Regions from separate parts of the Homo sapiens genome. Here regions 2, 3, 4, 5, 6 and 7 are each linked to region 1. Evidence: promoter capture Hi-C in 16 types of primary human blood cells and fetal thymus (Javierre and others, 2016). All regions are on one chromosome and are shown on one strand. Each heading gives the region's core, a stretch centred on a gene start or on the middle of the fragment in contact. The rest is flanking DNA. Distances are from core to core; before and after follow the strand shown. Region 1 holds the start of KRR1 (KRR1 small subunit processome component). Region 2 overlaps OSBPL8 (oxysterol binding protein like 8). Region 3 overlaps OSBPL8 (oxysterol binding protein like 8). Region 4 overlaps OSBPL8 (oxysterol binding protein like 8). Region 5 overlaps OSBPL8 (oxysterol binding protein like 8). Region 6 holds the start of BBS10 (Bardet-Biedl syndrome 10). Region 7 has its middle 17 kb from the start of BBS10.

Region 1 (4,260 bases), core at 647-3,146:
CTCACAAGTAGCTGGTACTACAGGCATGTGCCATCATGTCCGGCTAATTTTTTTTTTTTTTTTGTAGCGAAAGGGTTTTGCCATGTTGACCAGACTGGTCTCCTGGGCTCAAGCAATCCCCCCTCCTCAGCTTGCCAAAGTGCTGGGATTACAGGTGTGAGTCACTGCAACTAGTTACTTACAATGTTTACCTGACGAAGTCCCTATCCAATTTAAACACTTCAAAGGCTATGGATAATTTTTTTTAAAATCCCCACTACAACCTCAGGAAAAAAACTGACAAAAGAAATACTCAGGAGTTTCACAATTAAGGAAGCCTCAAAACATGTGAAAAGATATGCAACCTCATAGGTGATCAGAAAATGCAAACTAAAACTGCAACCAAATACCATTTCATAACTACCAAAATGACAGAAATTCAAAATTCAGATAACATGTATTCATACTAATGTAAGGCAATGACAACTTTCGTCCACTCCTAGTGGGAACAAAACTGACACTAGCACTTTGGAAAAAAGTTAGCATTACTTACACACACCCTACACTTCAGTGATTCCAATCCTATGTTCACAACCTAGAGAAACCCTTGAACATGTTAACCAGAAGACATGTACAAAGATGTTTTAGCAGTATTGTTTATAATTGCAAGCAATTGGGAACAATCCAAATGTCCACCGATAGTAAAATGAAAAAATAAATTGGGGTATATTCATACAAGGAAACACCACATAACAGTGAAAAGACTAAAACTACACCCGCAAGTATCACCCTGTTTGAAAAACAAAAAGCTAAATCTAAGAAGACACAGAAAAATGCATACGGTCCACTTTCATGTATATAAAATTAAAAAACAGGCTAAATTAAGCCACTTCATGACTACAAGAAGAGGAACAGAATGCAACACAATTCAGGGTGGTTACGTCTGATACAGGAAAAGAGAATATGATCTGAGAGGTGCACGTAAGGGTTTGAGGGGTATGGTAATGCTCTATTTTACTTAGTCTGAATGCTAGTTTCCCGCATGGTTTTATTAAACTCTATATAAGTTGTATCCCCTGCTATGTACGTTACATAATCATTTAATGAGCAACAACAAAGAAACTTTGAATACTTTCCCAATGCATCTAAATTGAGAGTTCAATGTTTTTAACACTTCCTATAAGCCTGGTTGAACAGATCCCCAGGCTATTTATGACTTCTCTATCATTCACACTGAAGAAAACGGGTAAAACCAGACTACAACGCAGGAGTTAACAATTAAAAGGTAACACAACCTAAACAGTAAGGGCTGTGTCGTCTAATATTTTAGCATCTGACAAACAGGAATTGATAATCTTTCAAAATGTCTTTACTGACAAACTAGAGCTAAGGACATGTCGGATAGCTCCTTTCCCCATACCTCACCCCATTATCAGGGTCCACTCTTGTATATCATGACTACCTATTCCCACCTCACCCTATTCCTCATTCCGTCAGTGACTTTCAGCCACCCGCAGGCTTACAAGGTTCTGCGTCGCCCTAGGCATTTTCTTAATACTCATCCTTTTACAAAAGACGTAATCCGCAACAGCTTCGCTTTGGGGACCCTTTAGCAAAAGCAATGAATTAGGAACACCTGGGTGGCACCATATCGGCCAGCCGTTCCTGTGGGCCCAGCCAAAATCTTATCAGCGATTATTCAGGTACTCAACTACACAGTACAGGCTCCAGGTGGTTTTATAAGTCCACGAGGAACGAAAGAAAAAAACATCGCAACTCAACGTACACAAACCCCAGGCTTCGGTTCCCACATAACATCACCTTGGTTCTCCGGCTTCGGCTTCTGGTTACGAAATTCACTTTTTCCAGCGCCTTTTTCTGGCCGCTCCAGCGAGGGAGACGCCATTTGCAAGCTGCTTCCGGTGGCTCCGGAAATGAAACTGTTCTTAAACCCTACCGGCTAAAACGCCTACACTCAAAATGAGTTCCGCGGAACTCAGACGAGGAGATCTGCGCAGTCTCCGTGCGTACGTGCGTTAAGCCCGCGCTTTTACACAAACCACAGCTTCTCCTACGTGGCCAATGAAGAGCCGGAGACTTTCTCCCAGTATGCCCTGAAACCATGGAGTTTGCGTACTGGGACTTGTAGTTTAGCAGGCGGTATAGGCAAATTGGATACTGTTTTATCCGTAGTTTCCTCGTGGCCTCACGGCCTAACCTGGACCATCGGACAGCGGAGTGCTACCAACCTGTCATTGATGTCATTCATTCTTTCGATAAATATTTATATGTTGGCCAAATATGCGCTAGATGTTGGGAGGAAGTACAAATATGAGAATACAATGTATATTGGGCCTCCACTGCAACAAGTGACAGGAATAGCTACTATTTATTGTGAGACTACTTTGTTTCAGTACTTTATTTACATTATTTCTAATTTTAAAAACAGTGACAAAATTAAACTTTTCAAAGTTGTTTCTGATGGTAATCTTCCCGAGTGTTGGTATTTCTCTAAGTCAGAGGGATGGTAATTCAACATCCTGACGTTTCTGAAGTATTTCAACTAGCCTAAGATTTCTCAAAATCTCTAAACTCCTTTTCTACCCCCAACATTACATAGGGCTAAGATGTGTAGAGAGGTTCATCACTAACTACAAATAACTACACTTTTGGAAGTATAAGAGTTCTTCGACATGCCAAATATAAGATTTTTTTAAATTTTGATTTTATTGCTTGCATTTCTAAAATTTTCTGCAGCAAATAGGGAAAGTCTTTGATAGGTTAAATTCCTTGCATTAGTGAAATACACGTTTGTCTGATAAATCCACTCTCGTGTATCTTATACAATAATTTAGGTTTTCATATATGAGATCCAGGTATGAAACAGATTGTTACATATGGACAGAAGAACCCACGACAGAGGGGTTTTTTGTTTTTATCCTGTGAGTTTTATAAATGACAGGGATTTTATCTCTGTTCTTTTAATTTCCTCAAAAAATGATAAATTCCTAAAATAGAACAGATAGCAGCAGGTGAAAGTTATAAAGTGAGGAGTACACCTCATGAAGCAGGTTTTTATCATTCTTATTTTAAGTAACTCAATCACTAATAAGTGGAAGGCCCGTCTTCAAGTTCAGGCAGTTTGACCTAGCAGCTTCAGGGGGCTACTATTCATTAGGAGCTTCAAATGTGTTAGAGGGCTGATAGGGATTAAGGGGAGGGAATAGTCTAGAAATAATATTTGTGTTAAAGCCCTTTATTTTATAGCAAAATTTTCTACATAGGCTTTTCTTCCCATTTACGTGTATATTTTTAATCTTAGTATTGCTATTATTTGAGGAATATTGAGAATATGATGGAGATGGGAAAACGAAAACCCACCCATCCTTTTCTTGGCACTATTGAGTCTGTTTGTAAAACCCAACCTTTTAATTACCATACTATGCAGAGCCCACAGTTCACCTGTCCCTTTTTGAAATTTTTACATCTTTTTCCAAATCATTACTGAAAGGGGTGTAAAAACATGGATAATAATTGAGTTCTAAGATTCTCTAACGTCCTCAAGACCTCCTATTATAGATGACACCACACTAAAACTGTCTGCTTTCCAAAGGAAAAGATTCATCAGGCTCCTACAATAAGTTATTTCAGTATTAAGTGATTCTTTCCCTTCCCTAACTCAAAAGCCCTCATGTTGTCCACCAACTGAATATACAATATAAAAACAATATATGATTGGAAGTTAAGTGAATTTTTTTAAGTCTGTTACTTGCCTTCCAGAACCCATAATCTAACACAAGTTATATCACAGGAATAGGGAGTTATCTTACATATAGGATATAAAAGCTTTTACTAAAAAATGAATCCTGCAACAAAAATCACAAATTAATTTAAAAATATTAATTATAATGACTATTAATCATATACTGAAGGGTATATATAATTATACAGTACTTTTTCCTCTGTGATAATATGAGATAAAATATAGCAAGATACTAATTTGATGCTAGTAGTTATAAGAAGTAATGTATAAAAATTAAATGAATAGAAAATTGCATGAGACTGAGAGGCTGAAGCTTTTCCTTAGTACACATACATTTTTTTTTCAGTTTTAAAACAGACTCTGATGCTTAAATATTGTTACTCATTAACTGAATTTTCATATTTTGGCTTGACAAGCAGGAATAGCACATATATATATACTTACTAAAAATTAAAATTGACAGTCAAATTGAATGAGAACAACGTTTCAACAATTTGCTTAGACTATGTTTTAAGCAA
Region 2 (4,260 bases), core at 1,215-3,714, 970 kb after region 1:
TAGCTGGGATTACAGGTGCCCGCCACGCCACCTGGCTAATTTTTGTATTTTTAGTAGAGATGGGGTTTCACCATGTTGGCCAGGCTGGTTTTGAACTCCTGACCTTAGGTGATCTGTACGCCTCGGCCTCCCAAAGTGCTGAGATTACAGGCGTGAGCCACTGAGCCCGGCCTTGTAATACTCTCTTAATATTCACTCCTCCAAATCATTTTATACACTGCTTTCAGATTCATCTACATAAAAATACTAAATGACAAACCATTACTTGCAGAATCAAATCCAAAATCCCTGGTCTAGCACTCAAAGCCTTCCATAAATTTGGTCTCTATCTGGCATATCCATCATTATTCCTCTAAACATCACTCACTTCCTTCCATCCTGCCTTAATATTTTTTACTAATTATACCCTGAATAAACTGAGCAATTAATTCCATATTTAGCCTTGCCTCTTGCTATTCTCTCACCTGGCATGGTTTCCTTGCTCATTTTCAATCCTATGATCCCTACGTTCATGTGCAATTCAAAGTTTATGTTCTCTTAAGAAAGCTTCTCCAACTACTCTAGTGTGGAGCAATCACTGAATCTTCACAGGCTTCTCCTGACTTTTAATTATTTATCTTTTTGTAGAGAAGGCTTAATATTAATAGTTATAATAACAATAAAAATAGTTGCTTTTATTTAATGGATGTTTACGTATGTGTAGCCTTGTAATAGGCACTTCATAGACATATTTTCTCAATTAATATTGAAAATAACTTTGGGAGGTAGATATTACAATTATCTCTATTTATAAGGAAACTAGAAACCTGGAGAATTTACTACCCAAGTCATACAACTAAGTGACAGGGCTCAGATTTTAACATGTAGCTAAATGTCTTACAGAGCTCATGTTCTGATCCACTTCTCCCAGATCTAAACAGTAACTAGCTTAGACCAAGCAGTTCAAAGGTGATTATTTTATAGTTAACTCAAAAGTGGACCTCAACGTTAGTTTCAAATACAGAATATTTCAGTAGTTTACACTGAAATTATTGGTATTATTTTCTCTAAAATTAGCTATAATATTTCACAGAAGGAACCTAATGAACAAGAAAAGAAAAACTGTTCTCACTACTTGTATTTTTATTATTTTTTTGAGACGGAGTTTCGCTCTTGTTGCCCAGGCTAGAGTGCAGTGGCGCGATCTCAGCTCACTGCAACCTCTGCCTCCCAGGTTCAAGCAATTCTCCTGCCTCAGCCTCCTCGGTAGCTGGGATTACAGGTGCCTGCCACCACGTCCGGCTAATTTTTTTGTATTTTTAGTAGAGACAGGGTTTCATCATGCTGGCCAGGCTGGTCTCGAGCTCCTGACCTCAGGTGATCCACCCGCCTCAGCCTCCCAAAGTGCTGGGATTACAGGTGTGACGCACCGTGCCCGGCCTCTCACTACTTTTCAAACAACTTTTAACTTCTCAATATCAACAAAATTTGGAATAGTAAATGACTAAGACCGGGCGCAGTAGCTCATGCCTGTAATCCCAGCACTTTGGGAGGCTGAGGCAGGTGGATCATCTGAAGTTGGGAGTTTGAGACCATCCTGACCAACATGGAGAAACCCTGTCCCTACTACAAATACAAAAAATTAGCCAAGCATGGTGGCACATGCCTGTAATCCCAGCTACTCAGGAGGCTGAGGTAGGAGAATTGCTTGAACCAGGAGGCGGAGGTTGCGGTGAGCAGAGATCACGCCACCGCACTCCAGAAATGACTAAAACTTTATTACTTTAGCCAAAGGAGTCTGGTAATAAAATGTAATAACATTTACTTGGATACATACTTTGAAAAGTAACAACAAATTTTAAGACACTTTATTCAGAAATATAGGTATGTAGTCAACATCTTAGTAGTAAAGTATTCAGAGACAGACAGATTTCAGTTCTATCGCTTAAGCTGTGAAGTCTTAGAGAAGATAATTAACCTCTCTGAGCCTATTTCCCTACCTCTAAAAGTGAGGATAAACAAATATCTACCTTTAATAGCTGTTATGAGGACAGTCTAACAAAGCATACACTTAAAAACAGCAACTGATATTTTTAATATCACTAGAAGACCAAAAGTATTTGAGTTGAAAGAATCTAAGTCCATTAGATATAAAAAAAGGTAAAGTTTATCATAAAATAAACATTAAGTTCTACAGACAAGGCTTAATATTAACTTTTCTTCTGAAATTATAGTAAAAATAAAGTAACTTACCATCCGTTTTTCATTTAAATCAATGTGACAACAGCCTTCTTCATAAGCCAAGAATTTCCACACCCATTTTCTTCTCTACTAACAATTTATTTTAAAGTTTAACTTTTTTTGATCATTTAAGAACCCCAAACAAGACTGAACCAGGAATTCAAGAAAGGCTGGGACCAAGTTAATATTAGTCAGCAAAACTGCATTTTGCTATCAATCATTAGACTGTTCCTACACTGGAGCCTGAACAAAGGACATTCACTAAACTAAAATTTACAAACACCGCAATCTAATAGTGACTCTCAATTCCACAGCAATATAAAAGACATAAAAGTTGGGCTCTACCTTATTCCAACAATGTAAATTTGTTAAAGAATCTACCACCTAACTAATGATAAAGCTACCAGCTGACTACATTTTACTGAAGGGGGCACCTTTACTTTAGGTAACAGAAATATTTCTAAGAGTCTATACATCAATATATAATGGAGTCACTCAAAATGCAACAAGAGAATTGAAAATGAAATTATTCTGGAGTAAAATCTTTTTGTACAGTGAGAAAAAAATGACAAATCATCATTTAGTCCATCCTACTAGTGATTTTGTTTTAATGTATTAGGTAAGGTATACTTTTCCTGCTACCCACTACTTGTTTAATTTCAGAATTCAATTATGATCACAGGGTAGAAATGTTTATTAAATCTTTATATTTTTATAAAAAGAATATATGTGGCAATTGCTCTTATTTTAACTGTTTCATTCCCACTATTACTCATAGCTGCATGTGATTTGAGATTTGGAGGCATTTAATTTCCTCAAATGTTAACATTCTCTTGATTTCACTTAAGACAAAGAGGTTTTGGGAGAAAACAAATTATTCTATCAGTATGTCTTTCACTATATGGCTGGAAGGATAGATAAAATAAGAGGAGGAGGATGGAGCAGAAATATCAGAAAACTGGTGTGCTCCAACAAACTTTAAGCTATTTGCAATTTTCATTTTTTTTTTTTTTTTTTTTTTTTTAGAGACCGAGTCTGACTTTGTCGCCCAGGCTGGAGTGCAGAGGCGCTATCTTGGCTTACTGCAACCTCCACCTCCCAAGTTCAAGCAATTCTCGTGCCTCAGCCTCCCAAGTAACTGGGACTACAGGCATGTGCCACCACACCTGGCTAATTTTTGTATTTTTAATAGAGACAGGGTTTCGCCATTGTTGCCCAGGCTGGTCTTGAACTCCTGAGCTCAGGTAATCCACCCATCTCGGCCTCCCAAAGTTCTAGGATTACAGGTGTGAGCCACCATGCCTAGCTAGCTATCTGTAATTTTCATATCATTTAAAGTATCTGTAATTCTCAAGGAGTTAAAGCATTATTTTAAAAATACTTTTTAAAAGTTTGTTGTTAATATATTTTAAAAACAAAACCCTAGCTTACATCAAACACTTCACAGTTACAGATGATAGAACCTATGTCATATATGAACTACTCACCGAAGTTCGATCAGGTTCTCCATCTGCCAAACCTCCCTCCATAATGAAAGAAGATAGGTTTATGCTTCTCTTTCCATTAATGTGCAGCCATTCTGTAAATCTGCAAATCCTAAAATAAGAAAATGATATTTATTAGGACTGGTATAAAACTGTGACAAGTAGAAATAAAGCATTGAGTTTGTTAGAAGGGAAAAATCATTTTAGTCTGAGGTTATTTGGAAATTCAATAATTAAAAAAAAAATTGACATGGGCTTGAAGAATGGTAAAGGTTCAGAGAAAAATGAAAGAAGAAAAAAATATTCCAAGTGAAGAAAAATAGTAAGAGCAAGGTTAAACATGAGACTGCCTAAAATTTGAAAGGATGCATAAATCTACTTACAACTAATGAAATAAATTAGTTTTTCATTATTACATTGGTAAAAACTAAAAAGTATGCTAAAATCCATCATGGGAGAGAATGTGGGGAAACAGATATTCTCATGTACTTTTGTTATGAGAATATAAATCAGGACAATTTTTTGAAGGACAATTAAAAATATGTATGTTTTAATC
Region 3 (4,260 bases), core at 1,289-3,788, 960 kb after region 1:
TATGTCAGACCCACATCACCTCATGTGTCAACTTCTGCATCTCCCTTTTGGTAGATGTCCCTGCATGCAGTCTCAGCCCACTCATTCATTTACTATGCTACATACCAGAATTTAAAAACATGATAAAAACATAGTCCCTACTGCCAAGATCACCATACACAGAAGACAGTATGTATTACGGTTTATTCAACACTAAGATAAGTGATCTCCAGTCTACCCAACATTACCCATTCTTCAGGCTATCCCATCATTAGCATGCCACTTAACTTCTTTCTGTGAGGTTTCTTTTTCTCCTTTGTAAATGCACTAATTATTAAACCTTCCAAATTTCTAGAATTGTTATGAGGCTTAATAATAGTTTACCTGAGTATTGTATATAAATTTGTTTTGAAAATCAGTATATAGACATAAGGCAGAATTACTTATTATTAAAACAAATGACAAAGACTAAGAAAGGACCTAGAAAAAAGTGATTAATTTACCAACTTAATTTTCTAGGCAGTCACTCTGGCCTCATTTCTCCTCCACTAAAGAACATCTGGTGGCACCCTATTCTTTTAAAAATAAACCCCAAACACTGATAGTTAAAATATTTTACAATTTGGCCCAATTATCCATCCCACAGAAATAATGATTTTCTATGAGATGGTCTCACATCTCCACTTAACTCAAACTCCACTTAGCTAAAATTCTGTCTAGTAAAACTGATTGCTTAAAGTGATCTGTAATTTTCTCCCTACTTTGTTTCTGCTTTCCTACTCAATAGCTTGAAATTTTTATATGTATTTTCTGTCTTTCTCCACTCAAATGTTAGCTCCACTGGAGTGGGAATTTTGTCTATTTTGTTCACTGCAATATCTCTTAAAACTAGAACAGAGCTTTGCGCCATAGCAGACACTCAACAAACCCCTCACCTTGAGAGCTCAAATTGCCAATTCTGCTACCTATGTTCAAGCTAAAGTTATCGTTCTCCAACTCTGACTTTCTAATGTGAATTCTTTGATAATTCATAATTATCTCACAGTATTGTCTCTCTTGCCATACAAATAAATAAATAATTCAATTGTTATTTAACTTTTCTCCACCATTATAATGGTCTAGTACAGTGCTGTCAAATAGAACTTTCTACGACGATAGAAATAGTGTGTATCTGTAATGTCCAACAGGGTAGCTACTACCTACATGTAGCTATTGAAATCTTGAAATGTGGCTAGTAAAACTAAGGAAGAACTTTTAATTTAATTAGGTTAACTTTAAATTAGTCACATGTGGGAAGTGGCTATACTATCAGACAACTCAGGTCTAGCACAATCTTACCTTTCCCTAGCTCACCTAACACTGACCACACCTCTAGCATTTGCCACTGCTGACCACTCCTTTTCTGAAAACTCTGTCCTCTCTTAGTTTCCAACCTATTTTCTCTTTCTCCTCCCTCTCTCTGCATCCTAGAATCTCTTATTTCCATTCAACATGATTTCCCCATGTGATTCCATTGACTTGATTTTTTAAAGAGCTCAGTTCACTAACTCCCCAAATCAGTTTCCTACCTTAACCACTCCTGAGCTGCAGACCCTCAAGGCCATTCCAATGATTCTCCTGGTGAATTCATTCTTCTTATATAAAGCATGACATCCTTGATAAGGGATTTCCTGACCTCCCACTGCAGGCATAACAAATAGATATTCCATCTGTCTTGTCACTGCATCTTTCTATTATCAGGTCGGATTGCAGGGGAGAGCCCACAGAGCTCCATGTGTTCCTAGCAACACTGACTCTGTACCTCCACCTTCCTGAGTAGGAGGAAAGACCCTTCACTCACCCTTTCCCACAACCCCAAACGCTTACAGACTAACCACCGTCTGCCCAACAGATATGCAAGCTTTACACTCAGTTCTTATTTTTTGCCTAGAAAACTTCCTTTAGGATTCTGCTCAAAAGCTACTTCATCACAATACTTCCATAATATTCCCAAAACAGCAATCATCCCCTATTTTGTTACTCTCTATCCTTCTTACCCTGCTTTATTTTTCGTCACAGCAATCATCTCGTAACACAGTTCATATTTATATATTTTTTCTTTCTCTACTGAAATGTTAGCTCCACTGAAGTGGGAATTTTGTCTATTTTGTTCACTGCTATATTCCTTAAAACTAGAACAGAGCCTGGCACCATTGTGGACACTCAGCAAATACTGAATGAATAAAGACAAGAAAAGAAAAAAAAAAGGCTTAGTGATTATAACCCTAATACCTAGCAAAGTCTTTGGCCATCTGATAAGCCCAAATTCCATCACTAAGAATTCCCTCATTCTTTTCCTTAAATAGTTCTGTCCTGCATAAAATAACATTGTTACAGATTCACTATCAGTTTTTGGTAATGAAACATGAATTACATTTCTTCTGGCACTGGTGGTCTCTTGCCATGATTAATCCAACCTCCTTTATCAAGGTCTTCACATACAAGAGAAGCTCAAAATTAACCAATATGATTTTCACTTGTAACTAATGGCATGCATCTGGTGAGACTGCTGGCGGACTCTGTGGTTAGGAAACCAGAAAAACTTTACTGCCCACTAAAAGAATTAAAGCTATAACCTTGAGCTTTGACTTCATTAACATTTTCCTCTAAATCTGGCCTAACGAGCCACAGTTGCCTGAAAAGGTTATGAAATAGCACAACCGAAACCATATTATCACATCATAATCATGCCAGGTGATATGAGAACTGGTTATATGAGACAGCATATACATGAACATTTCAGTGTCTGATGCTTCATCTTACGACCTGTTTCACGCATTTCAATTGTCAATCTGAAATAAAAGCATCTTACTTGAAATTTCATTTTGGCCAATTCTTTGCATGCTTATATAGAGATATGTGAGCCTACATTCTAGATTAAATCATGACTGAGATCTAAATTAAGACATAAGAGCTGCAAAAAAATACCTTCATTCCTTCTAGATTTCTATTCCATTTCTAACAAATCACTGATTAGTATATCACACTGCACAGCATCAAGCCACAGGCAAGACTGCTAATAATAACATGGAAACGTCAACCCCCATGACTCATCAATCTACCACACATAAGAATGCAGTTAGCAACTGTTCCTCATGTCTCTGCAACTACATGGTGCTCAAATGTCAAAATATTCAGCCTAGATAGAAAAGTCAAAATTATTAATAGTTACAGGAAAATAAAGCTTTGGATTAAATAAAACAGATCACGTATCACATATTTTTCAATGTATACCAAAAATTATATTAGGTAATGAATATAAAAACTAATGAATATAACAACTTTAAAAAGATGCTTAAAAGTCTAGGTGTAATATAGATGAGTTTATAACCCAAAAAAAAGCCCTCTCTTTCAATAAGAATAAGAGAATTAGAATATTTACATTTAGATCCTAGTGCTGCCCACTGTCTGGCTAACTGACTTTATGCAAATTACCCTTTCAGAGCCTCGGTTTCTTCATCTCTTAAAAACAGAGTAACATCTACCTTACAGTATTATAGAAAGGATTAAATGAGAAACTGTATGGGACACCAAGCCTCTGTACACCTCCACTTGGATACACATCTCAAACTCAGTATGTCCAAAACCGACTTCATCTTCCCTTTCTCTGCCCCTGCTCTTCTTCCTATATTTTCTCCCTTAAGGAATGGTACCTCCCACCAAATCACACAACACAGAAACCTGTAAGTCGCTCTAAATTTCTCCTTCACTTTTATTTTCCTCATCTATATTCTCCTCCACTCCTAATATTAAGTCCAGGACAAGGTCCTAAAGCTCTACGTAGTCTCTCATATTTACCCTTTATTTCTCATATCCACAGTTACTGCTACTACCTGCCACCTGAATTTCTTACACTTAAGCAATTTATCTTCCATACCGATATCATAGAGAGCCTTCTAAAGTTGTTCAACAACATGGTTGAGTCACTTCAATGATTCTGCACTCCCACAGCCTACCAAAATTGGAGAGAAAAACATTTAACCCCATCTTCAAGGCTCTTCACAATTTTGTCAATCTTATGTCATGCATTCCTCCAAACACCCATCAATCCTACACTTCACAAATGTGACAAACTGAAAATGACTTTCACTTCTTCAAACATACCATGTTGTTGAACAATTTACTTGTTACTCTCACAGCTCCTTTTGCCTACAATGCCATTCTCACCTTCACCAGGCAAATACCTAAGTTCCTTTCAACACTCAGGTTAAGCATTACCTTGTCTTAAAAAACTTTTTTGAT
Region 4 (4,260 bases), core at 639-3,138, 910 kb after region 1:
AATTTGTACGTACTGTTCTAGAGATTAGTAAAACAAGCATACCTAAAAGTAACAGCTGAGATCAAGAGATAGATAATCAGATATGAACTAAATAAAACAAACACATTGCATCATGACATCACTATGGGTACAGGGGCAGGGGTGTCACATCCATGTTATAGCTAATCATAAAGAAAAAGGTTATGCTGACGTATTTATTAAGGCAGAAGTGGCTAAAAGAAAAAAATATTTTTTTCAGGAAAATTAAAATTAAAAAAGGGTTATGCTCAAAGCAGTAAGAAAAAGTTATCTTTAAATATCACTAATGAAGAACAAATCTTTCCTTCTCTAGTTTTGTCAGATAAAAGCAAATGCATCTAAAATAATTTTTTCAATACAACAATGAAGTATATCAGGAGATATTAGATGTACTTTTTACTTTTACCTTAAGTCACAACAAAAAGCCACTTCTTTGAAGTACTTAATTCCATTCTACTTCTTAGTTGATAAAAGCAGATATTTTATAGAGCTTTTTATCACAGCTGGTTGTATTAAGGAGATGATGGAATCATTCCTATGAATATGATTTTCTCTATTTCAAGAATTAGAAAACAAAGCAAACCATTTACTTTTCTATAGAAACAAATCCATCCAAGATGGCTTTTAATATTTCTTTGACAAGATAAACTGACAATTTTGCCTTTAACTGCCTAATTAAATAAGTACCAAACTTAAAAGCTAAGTTTTCTATTGTTCATCAAGGTCACATGATTATTCTGTAAAGCTAAGTGGACTTGTGGCATGAAGGTCAGCAAACAATATATACTAGCAAGCTTGTTGGCCTAAAAAATGCAAACAAAGAGACAGAAACAAATACAGAAATGAAACTCATTTTAAAATAAAAAATATCTAACATTAAAAAAATCTCAGTATTTTGTATTTGCAAAGCCACTTCTGAATGACAAACGACTAAAATTTACACCATTTAAAACATAAGAAAGACGCATGAGAGCAACCATGCTACACTAAGAAGACTTAATATGGATTGAGTGCTATTTAAAGCTTATACTACTTAGGGAGAGTTCAGGACTATGGTTTCCAATTCTTTTGTGAAACACTGTTAGAAAAGAATGAAATCAGTCAATTTATAATTTATTTAATTGCCCAGGTGAACACTTTCTATGAGGCGTTTCACTATCTCAGAAGAACACATATACCACTTATCAACATGAATATTCAGAAAGCCAAGAATAAAGGTTATTGTGAAAATAGGGAATTTAATTCAACAAAATCTAAGTGTCAGAAAAAATATATAAATACAAGTATCAGTTTCAGTCAATATTTCTTTGCCATCATTATTAAATAGTACTTTTATTTTAAAAGAAAATATAACCCTAAAAGAGTAGACATAATTATATAGTGTTTAAAAATCTGAAAGGAAAAGATTATTTAAACATATTCAAATATTTGCTACAATTTCAAACAATAAAAGATCAATTTATGTCTACATCTCATTGACCAATTGTTTAATGCCTAAATCATAGCTGTCAAATGCCTAATAAATATAACCCTAAAAATATCATAAATTTTCATGATAAAAATTAATCACACACAAATACATCTAACAACAAGAGGAAGCTAAGGTATTTCAAAAACTATACTTGAGTAGAAAGCTTCACTTTAGTCAGAATTTAAGATAAATTTAAGAATTTAAGATAAAAAGATTAAGATAATAAAGTGGTAAGATTAAAGCTTACATTAAACATCAACTTTAATATAGTTACCATTCTGCAAAAAATGAACAAATATCAATATTAATATCTGGGTTTCATTTGGTAAACCCTCAGAGCAATGTGTTTATTTATATAATTTTGTGTTTATCTCAAGTCTAGAAGGGCTTTAATTTTATCAAAGGGTCATAATATTTCTATAATTAAAGCAAAAATTTATGCCGTAAGCACTCAAGATTCCTACTTTACTGAATCATTACTTCTGAAGTTTTAACTGAAGAGGCTCTAAGAGAAAATATGGAAAAGCCAAGCTGTTTAGCAGCAGTTACTGAAACCTAAGCTTTCACTACAGAATTGTTTTATTTAAATGAAAGCGGCTTTAAAATGTTAAAATGCCTGGTTTATTTTAATTAAAAGTCTGCAAGAAATTAGGAATGCAAGATTAAACACACAAACCTGGCAATGAAGGAGAAAGTTCATTGTATCCTCCAAATGAAGCATTCCGAACAAGCTTTCGGCCATCAATCCGGGGAGGAAATAAAACAGGCAAAACCCCAGTACAGGAAGAAAATCTACGTTGTGAGCTCTCTTCTTTCATAGCTCAGAAGGTCTATTTAATGTATATGCTCACCCAAAGGCTAATTAGACCAATATGGCAAAGACAGGCTTTTCTCTCACATCCAACTGTAGCAAAACCCACCAGCACAAACAAAGAACACACACATTTAACAGCAAAGGAGAAGGACCAAAGACTGTCAAATCAGCAATAAACAGATAGAGAAAGCCTGACAGAAAAAGCATTAAACCATGCTGCTGATTTTTTAAAAAAAGGAACTGATAAACATGAAAGGCTATTCTACTAATGTTTTACCTTTTTATCAAACCACCCTGCACTGAATTGCTGCTTTAGGAAAACAAAACAAGATCAATACTTAGCAATTCAAGATGAAGCAATAAAGTCATTTTCTCTTCTCAGAAATGCAATCCTTTTATCATATCCATTATGTTTCTGTACTATCCGGCCACACTTCCCACCTCTTCCGACTCCTTCCTTCCCAGCTTTTACTTACTTCAAAGATGGATATAAACATAATGCTTTTTATCTTCCCTGAAGCTTCTAGATTTATATCTAATCTACAGCTTGCCTCAGCCATGATTAAACATTCATAAGGAAAGATACTCTTTCAAGCACAACGTTGATGGATTCCAACAGTTAAAGCAGAGAATAAACATTTAAGTTTTGCCTCCAGCAGGGATATATGAGTCATTAAGACAGTGTTAGCGCAAACCAATCAACAGAGGAGATTAAAACGACACCATAATGCTGTATGCTCTAACATGTTCCTTGAAGAAAATATGAGCTGCTACTGTTCCTCTTAATTACATTTAAACTGTTCAAAATTTAATTTGAACAGTTTCATTACATCTAAACTGTTCAGTCTATCAATGAGTCTTTCCTGCTTAAAAAAAATTTTTTTTAAAAGCAACTTTATTATCACAGTGACAAATGTACTATGTTTAAAACTAAGTGACCAGTATTGACTCCACGTCATTAAATCTAACAGGTACCATCTGTTTATACCTAATCTTTAAAATTCCAAAGAATTCTCTCCCAATTATACTAAAATCCATATACCTTACCCTACCTTAATTCAGATTTAAAAGCTCTAGTCAGATGCTCTCTATATATGCCGTAGATTGATTTTTTTGGTTATAATTCTTTCTTTCAATCTGAAAATACACCCACTCAGCTGGACAATAACCATCTAGGTTAAAATTTATTAGTGGCTCATTTTTATAGGTATCTTACCATAAGATCTCAGTATCCTTCCTTATTATGCATTCACTTCAACGCTGGTTCTCTATTCATGCACAACATCTCATATAATCTAAGACTTTGTCCTTACTAGAAAGAACACATGAAAAAGCAAAACTCAATTTCTTTTTTGTTTTTTGGGTTTTTTTTGAGATGGAGTCTCACTGTCGCCCAGGCTAGAGTGCAGTGGCAAAATCTCAGCTCGCTGCCACCTCTACCTCTCGGGTTCAAGTGATTCTCCTGCCTCAGCCTCCCAAGTAGCTGGAACTACAGGCACCTGCCACCATGCCTGGCTAATTTTTGTATTTTTAGTAGAGATGGGGTTTCGCCATGTTGGGCAGACTGGTCTCAAACTCCTGACCTCAGGTGATCCACCCACCTTGGTATCCCAAAGTGCTAGGATTGTAGGTGTGAGCCACCGCACCAGGCAAAACTCAATTTCTTGTATGTGACATATTCTTTCTTGGGCAAAGGCATTTCAAAATCAATTAATGGAGAATAAGTTTACCACTAATACCCATAACTGCAACAAGTTTGTGGGTTTTAGGGGTTGGTTTGGTTATTATTATTTTTTGCTTTTCTCCATATCATAAAATGTACATTATTATTAACTGTAGACAACAAATAATTATAATTCATGTAATGGTGCTTGCCTTTAAAGGCATAAAGAACATCACAAACAGCATTATGCTAGTATAATAGTTAAGCAGGATTTGAAATTAAACTGCATTCAAA
Region 5 (4,260 bases), core at 951-3,450, 860 kb after region 1:
ATGGTTGGGTGGATTGTTCTATGTGTCTGCTAGGTCAAGTTGGTTTACAGTGTGGTTCAAGTTAATCCCTTTCCTCCTTATTGATCTTCTATCTAGAGGTTCTACCCATTATTAAAAGTAGTTTACTGAATTCTTCATCTATTGTTATAGAGCTGTTTCTATCTTCCAATTCTGTCAGTTTGCTTTGTATATTTTGGGGCTTTGTTGATTGGTGTGTGTGTGTGTGTGTGTGTGTGTGTATGAATTGACCCTTTTATCAATACGCCATGTTCTTTTTGTCTCTTGTAACAATTTTTGACTTAAAGTCTATTTAGTCTGACAGTATAACCACCTCAGTTTTCCTTTGGTTACTATTGGCCACCTCATTTTTCCTTTGGTTACTATTTGCACATAATATTTTTTTCCAAACTTTCATTTTTCTCTATTTCTGCCTATGGATCTAAAGTGAATCTCTTGTACACAGCAAATAGTTGGGTCATGTTTATTTTAATCAATTTTTACAATCTGTCTTTTGCTCGGAGAGTTTAATCTATTTACATTTTAAAATAACTACTGATAAGAACTTACCTCTGATTTTGCTATTTTCTATACGTCATATACGTTTTTTGTTTCTTATTTACTCCATTACTGCCTGCTTTTGTGTTTGCTTCCTGTGTAAACTGTTTCAATTCCCTTCTCATTTTCTTTTGTGTGTATTTTTTTAGATATTTCATTTGTGGTTACTATGGGGATGACATTTACACCTACCTCTACAACAATCTAGTTTGAGTTGATACCAACTTAACTTCAGTAGTACATAAAAACTTTCCTCCTATACAGCTCCATCCTCTCTGCTTTTATGTTGTAATGAACTATATCTTTACACATTGTATGTCTGATAACAAAGATATGTAATTAAATTATTTTTCATTCATTTATTTTTTAAGTCCTGCAGGAAATAAAAAGTGGACTTACAAACTAAAATTACAATAGCACTAGCTTTTATATTTGTCCAACTATTTACTAAAAATCTTTATTTCTTCATACAGCTTTGAGTTTCATTTTATTACATATTTACCTTAGCATTTTTTTGTAGGGCAGGTCTAGTGGTAATGAACTCCCTCAGCTTTTATCTGGGAATGTCTTAATTTCTCCCCCATTTTCGAATGACAGTTTTGCCAGATACAGAATTCTTGATTGACAAGTTTTTGCTTCTACCACTTTAAATATGTCATCTCATTGCCTTCTGGCCCCCATGGTTTCTATAAGATATCGGTTGTTAATCCTATGGATGATCCCCAGTGTATGTGATAAGTTGTTTCTCTCTGCTGATTTTAAGACTCTCTTTGGCTTTTGACAGTTTGTTGTGGTGTGGGTCTCTCTGAGATCATCCTACTTGGAGTTTGTTGAGCTTCTTGAATTTGTAGATTTATATCTTCCACCAAATTTGGGGATTGGGGGGTCTTCTTTCCTTAAATATTCTTCATTCATTTTTCTGTCTTCTCTTTGTGGAACTCCCATAATGCAATGATAACCCACTTGATGGTGTCCCATGGGTCCTTTAGGCTCTGTTCACCTCACTTCATTCATTTTTCTTTCTCCTCCTCAGACTGGATAATTTTTATGGTCTTATCTCTAAGTTTCCTGATCCTGTCTTATGCTTGCTTATATCTGCTTTTGAATACCTCTAGTGAATTTTCATTTTTGTTATACTTTTCAGCTCCAGAATTTGTTTGGCTCCCTTGAATAATTTGTCTTTATTGATTTTCTCAGAGATGAGTGCCTGTGTAAGTCCTTCAGGTAGTATTCTGACAGGTTAGGACAGACATACACAATTGTGTATGAGGTCCACTCTGCTCCTTCTGGAACTAGGGACTTACACTGGCAACGCAGGGGCTCTTCAAGACTGCTACTGCACTGGGATGGACCTGGGGCAAGGGCAGGTAAAATGCCACAAAGCTTTCCTCTCTTTGCACTTTCTTGACCAGTGTTCACTTGGTTGCTGAACACCTCTGACTGTTTTCCAGAGTTCTGGCAAATTGAGTTGACAGTTTTTGCTTGTTTTCTGATGTTTCTTTGGGGTAAGAAGAGTTCAGAGCTGCGTATTTTGCTCACCCAAAATTTTAAATTTTGAAACCAAATTTTAGTTGGTTGCTATAGATACTAAAGATTTAACAGATTTATATACCTAGTGTACCTAGTTTTTTATTACATACCATTGGAGTACGATGTTTCACTTTGGTCTGAATAACACCATCTTTTTCAAACTGTATCATATCATTAAGTGGGTCCCATGGTCGGGTACTACATAAATGAAAAAAAAAAAAACCATTTGCTCAATGACTAAACAAAGAACTTTAAAACTTTCTATTCTATGATCCAATTTTATTAATAATTATATACATAGTTCTAATAATGAGATTTCCCCATACCTAATCTTCAGATCCTCAACTTATTTTATAGGCTAACTTCTATCATAGAGTCAAGCTTATAATGAATGCAAAACCAAGTTTAAAAATCTCACACTAATATACATGGTTTAATTAAATAAAAACTACTCCAGCAACAAATATTCTAGAAATAAAGGCAACAAACCATGCTAATACATTGTTTGAAATAAACTATTTTAAGTTACTTACTCTGCAAACTTGTAATGCCATTCTCCTGTGAGTGGATCAAGTTCAAATAATTTGCAAGACCACTCTTCATTTTTTGTTTTCCGATCCCTGGCAGCTTGTCTTTGAGCTTCTTCCAAAACATACTTCTCTTGGGTAGCTTCAGTTTGGTCTTTGGCATTTATGGCTCGAGTTACCCGTTGCCAGAGTCTAATACATGTGCGAAAATATTAAAAGTATTAAAAATGTAACAGAAAATAAAATCTATATAGAATAGGCCTCAAATCCCTTGTAGAGAAAATAATGCTCACATGAATTTCTGGCTTTGACAACACTTATGCTCATAGGCTTAGAAATGAGTCAAGATATAAATCCAGTCCCTTGAGTAGAGAGAGACCTGTTCATAAGTGGAGACTAATTTTTTTTACTTGGCAAGAGAAACTTACTACATAGACTCTTAAACTCATGATAGTAAGTGTTGAAGTGTTGCTGGCTCAAGATGATAGGATGTAATGAAGGTAAAGCTCAGGAATCTACGCTTTTAGCAAGCTTCCTAGATGCGTCTTACACTGTTTAAGATTCACTGGCTTCATAAAGATCCATTAATGTAATGCAGTGCTTCTGAAGTTTGGATCCATGAATTATCAGAGAATTTTTATAATCAGAATCTCTGGGGTCAGGCGCAAGTATTGATATATTTTTTAAATGTTTCCCCAAAATATTTTAATGTATTGCTAGTGTTGAGAACCACTGGTTTAACAGAAAAGACTACTGAGGTAAAATGATTTCCCCTACTAGTTCTTTCTTCTGTTAAATAAAAGTATATCTATATCCTACCCATCTAGAAAGGCAGCATGTTAAAACCAGAAAAGGCTTTGGGATCAGATAGACATGAGTCAAGTCCTAGAGCTGCCACTTCTTAGCTGGTGCACTTAAAGTTATTTATCCTAAGTCTCATTTCCTCATCTTCAAATATGCTGAATTATATACTCTCACAAATTATCATATGTATGCCTTGGCAAAGCTTATCTCTGGAAAAAGAACATCAAATGGTTATGGCTGAGACAGAATTTTTAGAACTGGTACATATACATTCTTCCATCTTTGACAACCTCAAATTTGAGTGTAGAAGGGAAGGTACACAGACTTGAATTCCCATGACAGAGAATGATATGTATGTGCAAACATGTAGGGAGGACAAAGTTGCATAATAAGTACTAAGTGCCTAGCAAAATATCTCTTATACATAAGTCTCTTTCTCTTAACACAAAGATATAACAACAATAAAATAGGGAATGTGTATACAATATTTCTGATTCAAAAATATAAGCCATCTAGCAAGAAGTTCATGACTTAAGAACAGAAATGATAGCCTTAGTTATTACCCAACTAATAAATCCTATAGAAGCCAGTCCATCCAGTAACTTTACTTTTGTATCAGAGAATGGAACAGAAGTAGATTCTGCACCACTCCCTTTACCTAGAGTTCTAATGCTTAAATCAGGTTAGAAAACTGTTGCCAGGTAGAAACTAAGAGTCATTAATTAGTCCTGTAATCTTATTTAAACAAAAACGTTCTTTCTTTCTTTTTTTTTAAGGTGCTGGAACAATTGAGAAAGAAAAAAATGAGTAGTTTTGAGCTACAGAAAAGCAAGACGATTTATAT
Region 6 (4,260 bases), core at 601-3,100, 840 kb after region 1:
CAACTGTGTCCTGATAAGGCCTTTGTATTGAGCCATTACCAGGATCTGGTGCTTGATAACTTTCTCCACTGTTCTTATAAATAAAAAGACTTGAAGTGCCATTTTGGTCATTGGTTTGTGTCATGTAATTTAGATCAAGGTCTTTAAATAATTGCCGAAGCATTTTAAGTGCTCCATGTAAAGCATCCTCATGTTGTTCAATGAGACCATGCACTGGTCCACAAAGAACTATAGAGTGTGGTATAAATGCACATGTGCTTATCAAGCCTAGATGAACATATCTTTTGGATCTAAGGATAAGAGGTTTACAAAATTTCACCAAAGCAGTGTTAGGTATTTCACACTGCGAAAAGGCCTGTGGTGGTACAAATGGAGAAAGACCAATGATCCTCCGGATAAGAGAAACTTCTTCTGATGATAAACACTCAACCACTGATATGCCATTCACCCCTGCATAATAACTAACTAAATCTGGTTGTTTCACACTAGATATGAGCAATTTTACATTCTGACTATGTAGATGTTTCATTATTGCTTTTGTCTTTTCCATAATCCAAAATTGAGATGTCTGAAACTGTGCTTCTGAATTTAGAATAAACTCTGATCCAGAAGTGGAAAAAAGAGGCTGAATGGTTTCTGTTACTATCACCATTCGCATGTCACCATCTGCTGGGCGGTACACAGAAAAATCTTTCTGAAGCACAAGACCAGCTATGATCCTGGAATCTGAAACAGGAAGGCCAGTGACACCAACATTCAACTCTACAAAATGGTCATCCACTAACTCAAATACACCAATCCCACTTTTACAAGTCATACACTTGAAAAAGTAGTCACACATCAACTGTGAAATAAATTTATGATTATTTCTTCCCACTCTTCCACAAAAGTATGCTTCTAAGAGCAACTCTAAAGAGCTCCTACACAATGTTCTCTCTTTAGCAGACGAAAAGATAGACAAAAAGTGTCTACTTAGGTACTGGTCCATAATACCGTCTAATATTTGTGTCTGAAACGTTAGGAGAGCCTGGGAAATAAATTTCCACCGAGAACAATTTTTCCAATGCCTTCCATGGGTTTGAATGTTTTCACACATCAAAGGATCCTTTTCTCTGTCTGTGATTGCATGAAGTCCTCTAAGCAAATGGCAAAGAAAGATAATAAATGTTTTTGCACCATCTCCTGTTTTTTTGAGATGACTGGAAACACAGTCCACTATCATCCTGTACAAAAAAGAAATAAAGCAACTCATTTTCAGAAGGCTGGCTTCCCACATCTTAAAACCATGTTTACACAGCCATAAGCATAAAATGAGAATATTGTTCCTTGGATACATCCTTAGTTTTTTCCTTTCTTGGAAAAAACTCTGCTCTATTCCAAGATTCCACCGTTGGGTGGAGTGGGGAGAAGTGGTCTTGAGAATTGGTAAGATTTGGGGTGCAGGAGTGTTCCCTTGGGCAGGGCTCTAATTCCGAGCATACAGCGGTTTCACCCGAGGTCAGTCTTTCTAAGTACGCATCGCCTCAGGATGGGACAAGAGCTCCACAGAGGCTGCCTGGGGTGCCCGGCTACGGGTTAGCGTGTGGGACGCGGGTACCTGGCTATGGGATGCTCTAAGTGTAGCGCCTCCAGGAGGCGGCCTCCATTCCGGCTGAGAAGCACCTCGCCAGTGGGCTTCGTACACAAAACTTGCCGTCCCTCGGGCCCCACGCAGCAGCTCACGATGGCTTCCAGCACCTCGGCCACCTGCAACGCCGCCTTCACAGACCCTGCAGCGGCCATAGAACTTAACATATCTGGGCCGCTTCCCCTTTTTGACCAGCTTGCAGAACACCCGGGCCGACCGAAAACAGGGGTGGGAACGGCCGGAAACGGAATAGGCGGGGAGAAAACCCGGAAGCCAGGAGTCGAAGCCGGGGTAGCACGGCTTCTTGGTTGGGCGAGAGGGCTGCCCTTCTGTCCGCCTGGTGGAAAAGCCCTGCAGCTTTGCCAGGTGGGGTGAGCTGGCCCGTTGTACGCGAAGGCAGAAAAAACAGACTAGGATTTCCAGCAGCTGTGCCTGGAGCGGCAACCCTAAGCCCCTCCCCGGCTCCCTAGGTGAATTCATCTCCCTCCAGTGGCGTCCGCTGCCCCCAAATCCCTTAGTCTCCCGAGAAACTTTCTTCCTAAGTCAACACGGTAGTGGGGCCTGCGTGAAGGAGAGGGCACCCCGGTTGGAACTCTGCTGGCTTTCATCCCCTGCCAGAAGCTGCTTTTTCCGGGGCAAAACCTCTGCCTTGGATTCACGCATGTTCCTGTCCACATTCCCCACGAGTTGCTCTCCTTACCATAACGGAAATAATTTGTAGATGCAGGACAGGTGAGGAGAGCCTGGCCACAGCCATGAATTGCAGGCTTTATGTCTGCTGCAGAGGCTTTACCACATTTCCTAGACTCAGGTATCACAATAAAACTCTAGACACCACAAATATATTAAGCAGAAATGATGCGAAGTCTCTATTTTTTGAGATGGACTCCCGCTCTGTCGCCCAGGCTGGAGTGCAGTGGCGCAATCTCGGCTGACTGCAACCTCCGCCTCCCGGGCTCAAGCGATTCCCGTGCCTCAGCCTCTCAAGTAGCTGGGATTACAGGCATACGCCACTGTGCCCCGCCAATATTTGTATTTTTAGTAGAGATGGGGATGTCACCATGTTGACCAGGCTGGTCTCGAACTCATGACCTGAATGATCCACCTGCCACGGCCTTTCAGAGTGTTGGGATTACAGGCATGAGCCGCTGTGCAGATTTAAATCCATTAATCACGTCGGTGATCAACAGTATGCTTTAAAACACATGGCCAAGGATTATTGTATATAACCCAAAGACAGAAAATACTGTCTCTTATAACATTTTTTTTGTTTTTTAAGAGATGAAGTTTCACTCTGCCGCCCAGGCTGGAGTGCAGTGGCGAGATCATAGCTTACTGCAGCTCCGCATTCCTGAGCTCGTGATCCTCCTGTCTTAGCCTTCAAGTCGCTTTGTGCCTCACTACGCCTGGTTATTTTCTCTTTTAGTAGAGACAGGGTCTCCCTGTGTTGCCCAGGCTGATCTTGAATTCCTGGCCTCAAGTGATCCTCCCAACTTGGCCTTCCAAAGTTTTAGGATTACAGGCATGAGCCACCTTGCCTGGCCTAAAACACAGGCACTTGAGAGCATGGGCTTTGGATTCAGACCTGGATTTGCTCTGTCATTTCCTTACCTGTGGCATTCACCAAGTAACCTCTTTGATCTCTGCTTTTCTCATCTTTAAAAACAATGGGCCTGCCGCAGTGGCTCATGGCTGTAATTCCAGGACTTTGGGAGGCCGAGGTGGGAGATCACAGGAGGCCGAGAGTTCAAGACCAGCATGGCCAACATAGCAAAATCCCGTCTCTACTAAAAATACAAAAATTAGCTGGGCATGGTGGTGCATGCTTGTAATCCCAGCTACTCTGGAGGCTGAGGTATGAGAATAATTTGAACTCGGGAAGGGAGGTTGCAGTGAGCCAAGATTGCACCACTGCACTCCAGCCTGGGCGACAGAGCGAGACCTTGTCTCAAAACAAAACAATCCCCGCCAAAAAAACCAGTGGAGATAACATATACAAAATAAAAATCTCAAGAGGTTTTGAGTAGGTGGAGAATGTTCACTAAACACTTTGCATAGTGCCTGGCATAGTTAGCACTCAACAGATATTTATATTACACCTGTTAGAGGAAAAGGGTCCCAATCCAGACCCCAAGAGAGGGTTCTTGGATCTCATGCAAGAAAGAATTCAGGACGAGTCCATAAAGTGAAAGCAAGTTTATTAAGAAAGAGGAATAAAAGAATGGTTACTCCATAGGCAAAGCAGCCCCAAGGGCTGCTGGTTGCCGATTTTTATGGTTATTTCTTGATGATATGCTAAACAAGGAGTGGATTATTTATGCCTCCCCTCTTTAGGCCATATAGGGTAACTTCCTGACATTGCCATGGCATTTGTAAACTGTCTTTGGTGCTGGTGGGAGTATAGCAGTGAGGACAACCAGAGGTCACTCTCGTGGCCATCTTGGTTTTGGTGGGTTTTGGCTGGCTTCTTTACTGCAACCTGTTTTATCAGCAAGGTCTTTATGACCTGTATCTTGTGCCAACCTCCTATCTCATCCTGTGACTTAGAATGCCTTAATCATCTGGGAATGCAGCCTAGATCTTAGCCTCATTTTACCCAGCTCCTATTCAAGATGGAGTTGCTCTGGTTCAGA
Region 7 (4,260 bases), core at 1,028-3,527, 820 kb after region 1:
AACACTAACATTTGCGGGTCAAAAAGAAGAACTCAAAAATTAGACAAAAATGATTCAAATATTTTCCTACTGACTCAGCTTTTGTATCTCAGGAATCCTCCACTTACTGACTTTGACTCCTTCCCCTGCATCTAATCAGTGTCAATTCCAGCTAATCTTTGAGTCACACTTTGTCCCACGCCCATCCCTTCTTCCCATTCCTATCTGACATTCTAGTTTATACTCCACATCTATTGCATCAGTTCTTTGCCATAACCTCTTAATAGGTCTCTTTGCTTCCTGCTAATACCCACTAAAATCCATCCCACACAGTGCTGCCAGGTTAATTTTCTTAAAATATTCCTTGGGTTGACTCACTCTTCCTTGTTAGAAATGGTCAATATTTCCCTGGTATGTCATGATTCCTATTCTGTTTTTCTCTACCCATTGATCCTGATTCTTAATGAAAAACAGGAACTGGCATCATAGGGAATAAAATTTAACTGTGAGAGACAAGAAAAAGGACAGGGGAAGGATAAAAAAGAAAAGGAGAACTTAGGTTGTGAGGAGAGGTTGACTTTGCTGGGGGTATTGGAAATAAGTCTTGTTCGGGGATATGCAAACTATGGCCTGCGGGCCAAATGCAGCCTGCCACCTATTATTGCTAATAAAGTTTTATTGAAACACAGCCATATCCATCATTAACATATTGTCTATGGCTGCTTTTGTGGCTACAGCTGCAGAGTGAAATAATTACAACAGATCCTATCCGGCCCGCAAAGACTAAAATATTTACTATCTGGTTCTTTACAGAAAAAATTCGCCAACCCTTGGTCTAGTTATAGCTGCAATATGTGAGAGATATTAGACCTCAAGAAATGTAGAAAAGGATATTATAGGAAATTATGCTTGGGATTACCAATTGGATAGATCCCTGTGGACAGCCTTTGAAAGATTCCAGCAAAGATTTGAATTACTTTTAATTGCTGGACTGTTTCTTTGAATATATTTTCTCAGACTCTGCGCCATGAGGCAATCCCAATTAAATGTCCTTTGTGTATTGATCCCTTAGCATCTTTATTTACATTATTTCTCTCTCTTGAAATTTCCCCTCTAGCTTACTTTCATGTCTGGCTTATTCCTTTACATCCTTTCCTTCAAATTCCGACTCAAGTTTACTTTCCTTTGATAAGCTTTCTCTGTCCTTTATTGCCCACAGTAAGCTCTCACCTCACATGATAAAAGCTGCATTTAATCAGCACTCCCCCATTCAACCTTTACATACCGCTATGTATTTTTGGTTAATCTTTTCATGGTGTGAGGCTTTCTCCCTATGAAATCACAAGCTTATTGAAGTCAAGAACTGTGTCTTACGTATCTTTTCATCCCCCACAGCTTCTGGCAAAGGGAATTGCATAAAATTGTGCTTGATAAATTTGCTTATAATTAGTGAAAGCAGGAGAAATACAAGAAAACAGATTTTCCAACTTCCAAGCCCTATAGAAGTGCTATGCCCCAACACTGTGACATATTAATGTCTGGCTCAGTTTTTAAGCAACTGAATTTGTTAGGTAAAAGTCCCAAATCTTTTAATGAGAACATGAAGGTGATTGGGCTATGATGTCTGTCACCTTGTTGGCTGCTAGGCTTGATTTTGTGCTCCCTTGCTCCTGAACCTCTCCTGAAGCTGCCTGCCCAAAGAGAGGGGTAGGGGGTCTTCCATACAAGTGGCTAACAGGTATATCTAAAAGTGCTGCACATCACTAATCATCAAGGAAATGCAAATTAAAACTATAAGGATATATCACTTCTCACCTGTTAGAATGGCTACTATCAAAAAGACAAACGTTAACAAGCATTGACAAGAATATGGAAAAAAAGACAACTTTTGTACACAATTGGTGGGAATGTAGATTAGTACAGCCATTATGAAAAACAGTGTGGAGATGTTTCAAAAAATTAAAAATAGAACTACCATGTTTCAGTAATCCCACTACTGGGTACATATGCAAAGGAAATGAAATCAACATGTTGAGGGGATAGCAGCACTTCCATGTTTACTGCAGCACTATTCACAATCGCCGGGATTCGGAATCCACCTAAGTGTACATCAATACATGAATGAATGAAGAGAAATGTGGTATACATACACAACGGAGTACTATTCAGCCATAAAAAAGAAGAAATCCTGACATTTGTGACAACATGGATGAACCTGAAAGACATGATGTTAAATGAAATAAGCCAGCCAGAGGAAGACAAATACTGCATGGTCTCATTTAGACACAGAGTCTACTTCTATGTAATCTCATAGAAGTAGCCAGTAGAATGATGGTTACCAGGGAATAAGGTGGTTGGGAATAAGTTGAAAGCATCTACTGTACAACTGGACGACTATAGTTCATTACATATTGTATTCTTGAAAAATGCCGAGAGTGGATGTCAAGTGTTATCCCAAAAATAGCTCTGCAAGGTAATGCATACGTTAATTAGCTAAATTCAATCATTTCACAATGTATATATACTTCACATCATGTAGTACACAGTAAATACATACAATTTTATCTGTTAATTTAAAAAATTTAAAAAATAACCAAAGAGGGGCATCTGCTCAGATAGGACAGTTCTGTTGTCAAGTGTATAGTAGCCTTTTGTTAGAGCAATCGGTGATCATGAGAAGTGTAGGCTAATGTCCTAATTTTCTGTTTTACGACACGGTCTTCTGCTATTGTGCCATATATTTCTTTTTTATTTTAAAAAAACCTTTTTATTGAAGTATAGCATATATATAAATGCAAATAAGTGTATAGCTTGATGAATAACAAACTGAACACGTTTATGTAACCAGATCCCAGATAAATAGAACATTATCCATACCAAGAAATCCACAACATGCTCTCTTTCAGTCACTAGATCCCCTTGCTGCCCTGCAAGGGGACTGTTGCACTGGCCTGCAATAGCATTGACTAGCTTTTCCAGGTTTGATGCTTTACATAGGTGAAATCATACAGTATATACTTTTGTACCTGCCTTCTTTTATTTATGAGGTCAATTCACAGTATTGTGTGTAGTTGTGGGCTGTCATTCCCATTGCTTTGTAATGAATAAATCAATGGTAGCATATTTATATAGTGGAATACTATACATTTCATTTTCATTAACAACATCTTACATTGAAAACCTTGAGAGCTCAGCTGTTGAAGTCCAATGCTGCAATGATCAATGTTCTTCTCAAATCTTTAATTTCACAAAAGCTTAATGGCATCAGTGTCGTGCCTAAGGATAATATCTCAAGTACTATATCAGCTTCTGAGTTAGGAAAACCTGTTTTGCTTTATATCTGTTAAAGGTTTTGTAACAAAATAATAGTCTTTTAAATTCCATTGTTAAGCATCACTGTTATCTTAGAATCGTATTTATACAACAAACTTTTCAGAATAAAAACAGAGCAATCAAAAAAGAGCATTTATATTACATAGTCACTTGATTCATTACCTCTAAAATGTTCCTTCCCTTTGTGTTTTGCAAAGTTATGAAAATTTGTTACTTTAATACCAAAAACTCTACTAAATTTAATTTACTTTGAAATGTGTTTATCTCTCCCACCAAAACACACACACACACACACACAGCTCACTATCATTGACTGGGAGGTTTTACTTACAGATAACCACTGGACAGCTTAAGCCTCGTGATGACAGTCTTCTTTTGATGTGACAGGAATTACACCTGTTTGGATGAAATCCAAAACCCATATCATAGAAAAATTCACTATGTTATGGTACCCCTCTGTTAAAGTGCCTGCATAAAAGTGTCTTTTTTTTTTAAAAAAAAAAAGGTCCAGTTTATTGAGGCATAATTTACTTATAGTAAAATTCATCCTGTTCAGTCCACAGTTCTATAAGTTCTGATGAGCACATACAGTTTTGTAGCCATCACCACAGTCAAGATACACAACAGCCCATCATCCCCAAAAGTCCATTCATTCCCCTTCATAGTTAATCCTTACCCCAGACTCTATTCCCTGGCAACCACTGATTTCACATAAGCATATAAAATGTTTTCTTCTCTTCCTTTATTAGAGACAGATGAGTAGGGTGAGGTCTGACTCCTTGTTCCCTCTTGATAGGGTTTGACTGTGTCCTCACCCAAATCTCAACTTGAATTGTATCTCCCAGAATTCCCACTTGTTGTGGGAGGGACCCAGGGAGAGGTAATTGAATCATGGGGGCCAGTTTTTCCTGTGTTATTCTCCTGGTAGTGAATAAGCCTCATGAGATT

What was found. The method cuts DNA at HindIII sites, captures the fragments that hold promoters and counts their contacts. A CHiCAGO score of 5 or more calls a contact.
Region 2: a contact is called between a fragment that was not itself captured here and the fragment with the promoter of KRR1 in region 1, in 1 of 17 cell types (total B cells). The highest score is 6.1, in total B cells.
Region 3: a fragment that was not itself captured here is called in contact with the fragment with the promoter of KRR1 in region 1 in 2 of 17 cell types (naive B cells and megakaryocytes); the score reaches 6.4 in naive B cells.
Region 4: a contact is called between a fragment that was not itself captured here and the fragment with the promoter of KRR1 in region 1, in 1 of 17 cell types (naive B cells). The highest score is 5.3, in naive B cells.
Region 5: a fragment that was not itself captured here is called in contact with the fragment with the promoter of KRR1 in region 1 in 2 of 17 cell types (M2 macrophages and naive CD4 T cells); the score reaches 7.2 in M2 macrophages.
Region 6: the fragment with the promoter of BBS10 here is called in contact with the fragment with the promoter of KRR1 in region 1 in 15 of 17 cell types (M2 macrophages, naive B cells, total B cells and 12 more); the score reaches 18.6 in M2 macrophages.
Region 7: a fragment that was not itself captured here is called in contact with the fragment with the promoter of KRR1 in region 1 in 2 of 17 cell types (M0 macrophages and M2 macrophages); the score reaches 7.1 in M0 macrophages.

What each region holds. Positions count from the first base shown.
Region 1 is chr12:75,509,713-75,513,972 of GRCh38, forward strand. KRR1 (KRR1 small subunit processome component) reads right to left here and starts at 1,897. Exons shown (of 10, transcript NM_007043.7): 1 at 1,801-1,897. The coding sequence starts at 1,885. RefSeq lists enhancers at 1,110-1,654, 1,655-2,198, 1,705-1,864. The HindIII fragment of the contact is 5,214 bases long and covers 1-3,823 here.
Region 2 is chr12:76,483,803-76,488,062 of GRCh38, forward strand. It overlaps OSBPL8 (oxysterol binding protein like 8), which reads right to left. Exons shown (of 24, transcript NM_020841.5): 2 at 3,708-3,816. The coding sequence starts at 3,749. Among named protein-coding and RNA genes, the nearest start is that of OSBPL8, 74 kb to the right of the region's middle. The HindIII fragment of the contact is 3,840 bases long and covers 545-4,260 here.
Region 3 is chr12:76,467,692-76,471,951 of GRCh38, forward strand. The region is part of intron 2 of OSBPL8 (oxysterol binding protein like 8); the gene reads right to left. Among named protein-coding and RNA genes, the nearest start is that of OSBPL8, 90 kb to the right of the region's middle. RefSeq lists an enhancer at 3,958-4,037. The HindIII fragment of the contact is 1,323 bases long and covers 1,878-3,200 here.
Region 4 is chr12:76,420,346-76,424,605 of GRCh38, forward strand. The region is part of intron 4 of OSBPL8 (oxysterol binding protein like 8); the gene reads right to left. Among named protein-coding and RNA genes, the nearest start is that of BBS10, 74 kb to the left of the region's middle. The HindIII fragment of the contact is 318 bases long and covers 1,730-2,047 here.
Region 5 is chr12:76,367,019-76,371,278 of GRCh38, forward strand. It overlaps OSBPL8 (oxysterol binding protein like 8), which reads right to left. Exons shown (of 24, transcript NM_020841.5): 20 at 2,619-2,804; 21 at 2,196-2,283. Among named protein-coding and RNA genes, the nearest start is that of BBS10, 21 kb to the left of the region's middle. The HindIII fragment of the contact is 528 bases long and covers 1,937-2,464 here.
Region 6 is chr12:76,346,565-76,350,824 of GRCh38, forward strand. It overlaps BBS10 (Bardet-Biedl syndrome 10), which reads right to left and starts at 1,851. Exons shown (of 2, transcript NM_024685.4): 1 at 1,598-1,851; 2 at 1-1,223. The coding sequence starts at 1,794. RefSeq lists enhancers at 1,157-2,106, 2,107-3,056, 2,203-2,252. The HindIII fragment of the contact is 11,737 bases long and covers 1-4,260 here.
Region 7 is chr12:76,329,161-76,333,420 of GRCh38, forward strand. No RefSeq gene overlaps it. Among named protein-coding and RNA genes, the nearest start is that of BBS10, 17 kb to the right of the region's middle. The HindIII fragment of the contact is 1,908 bases long and covers 1,324-3,231 here.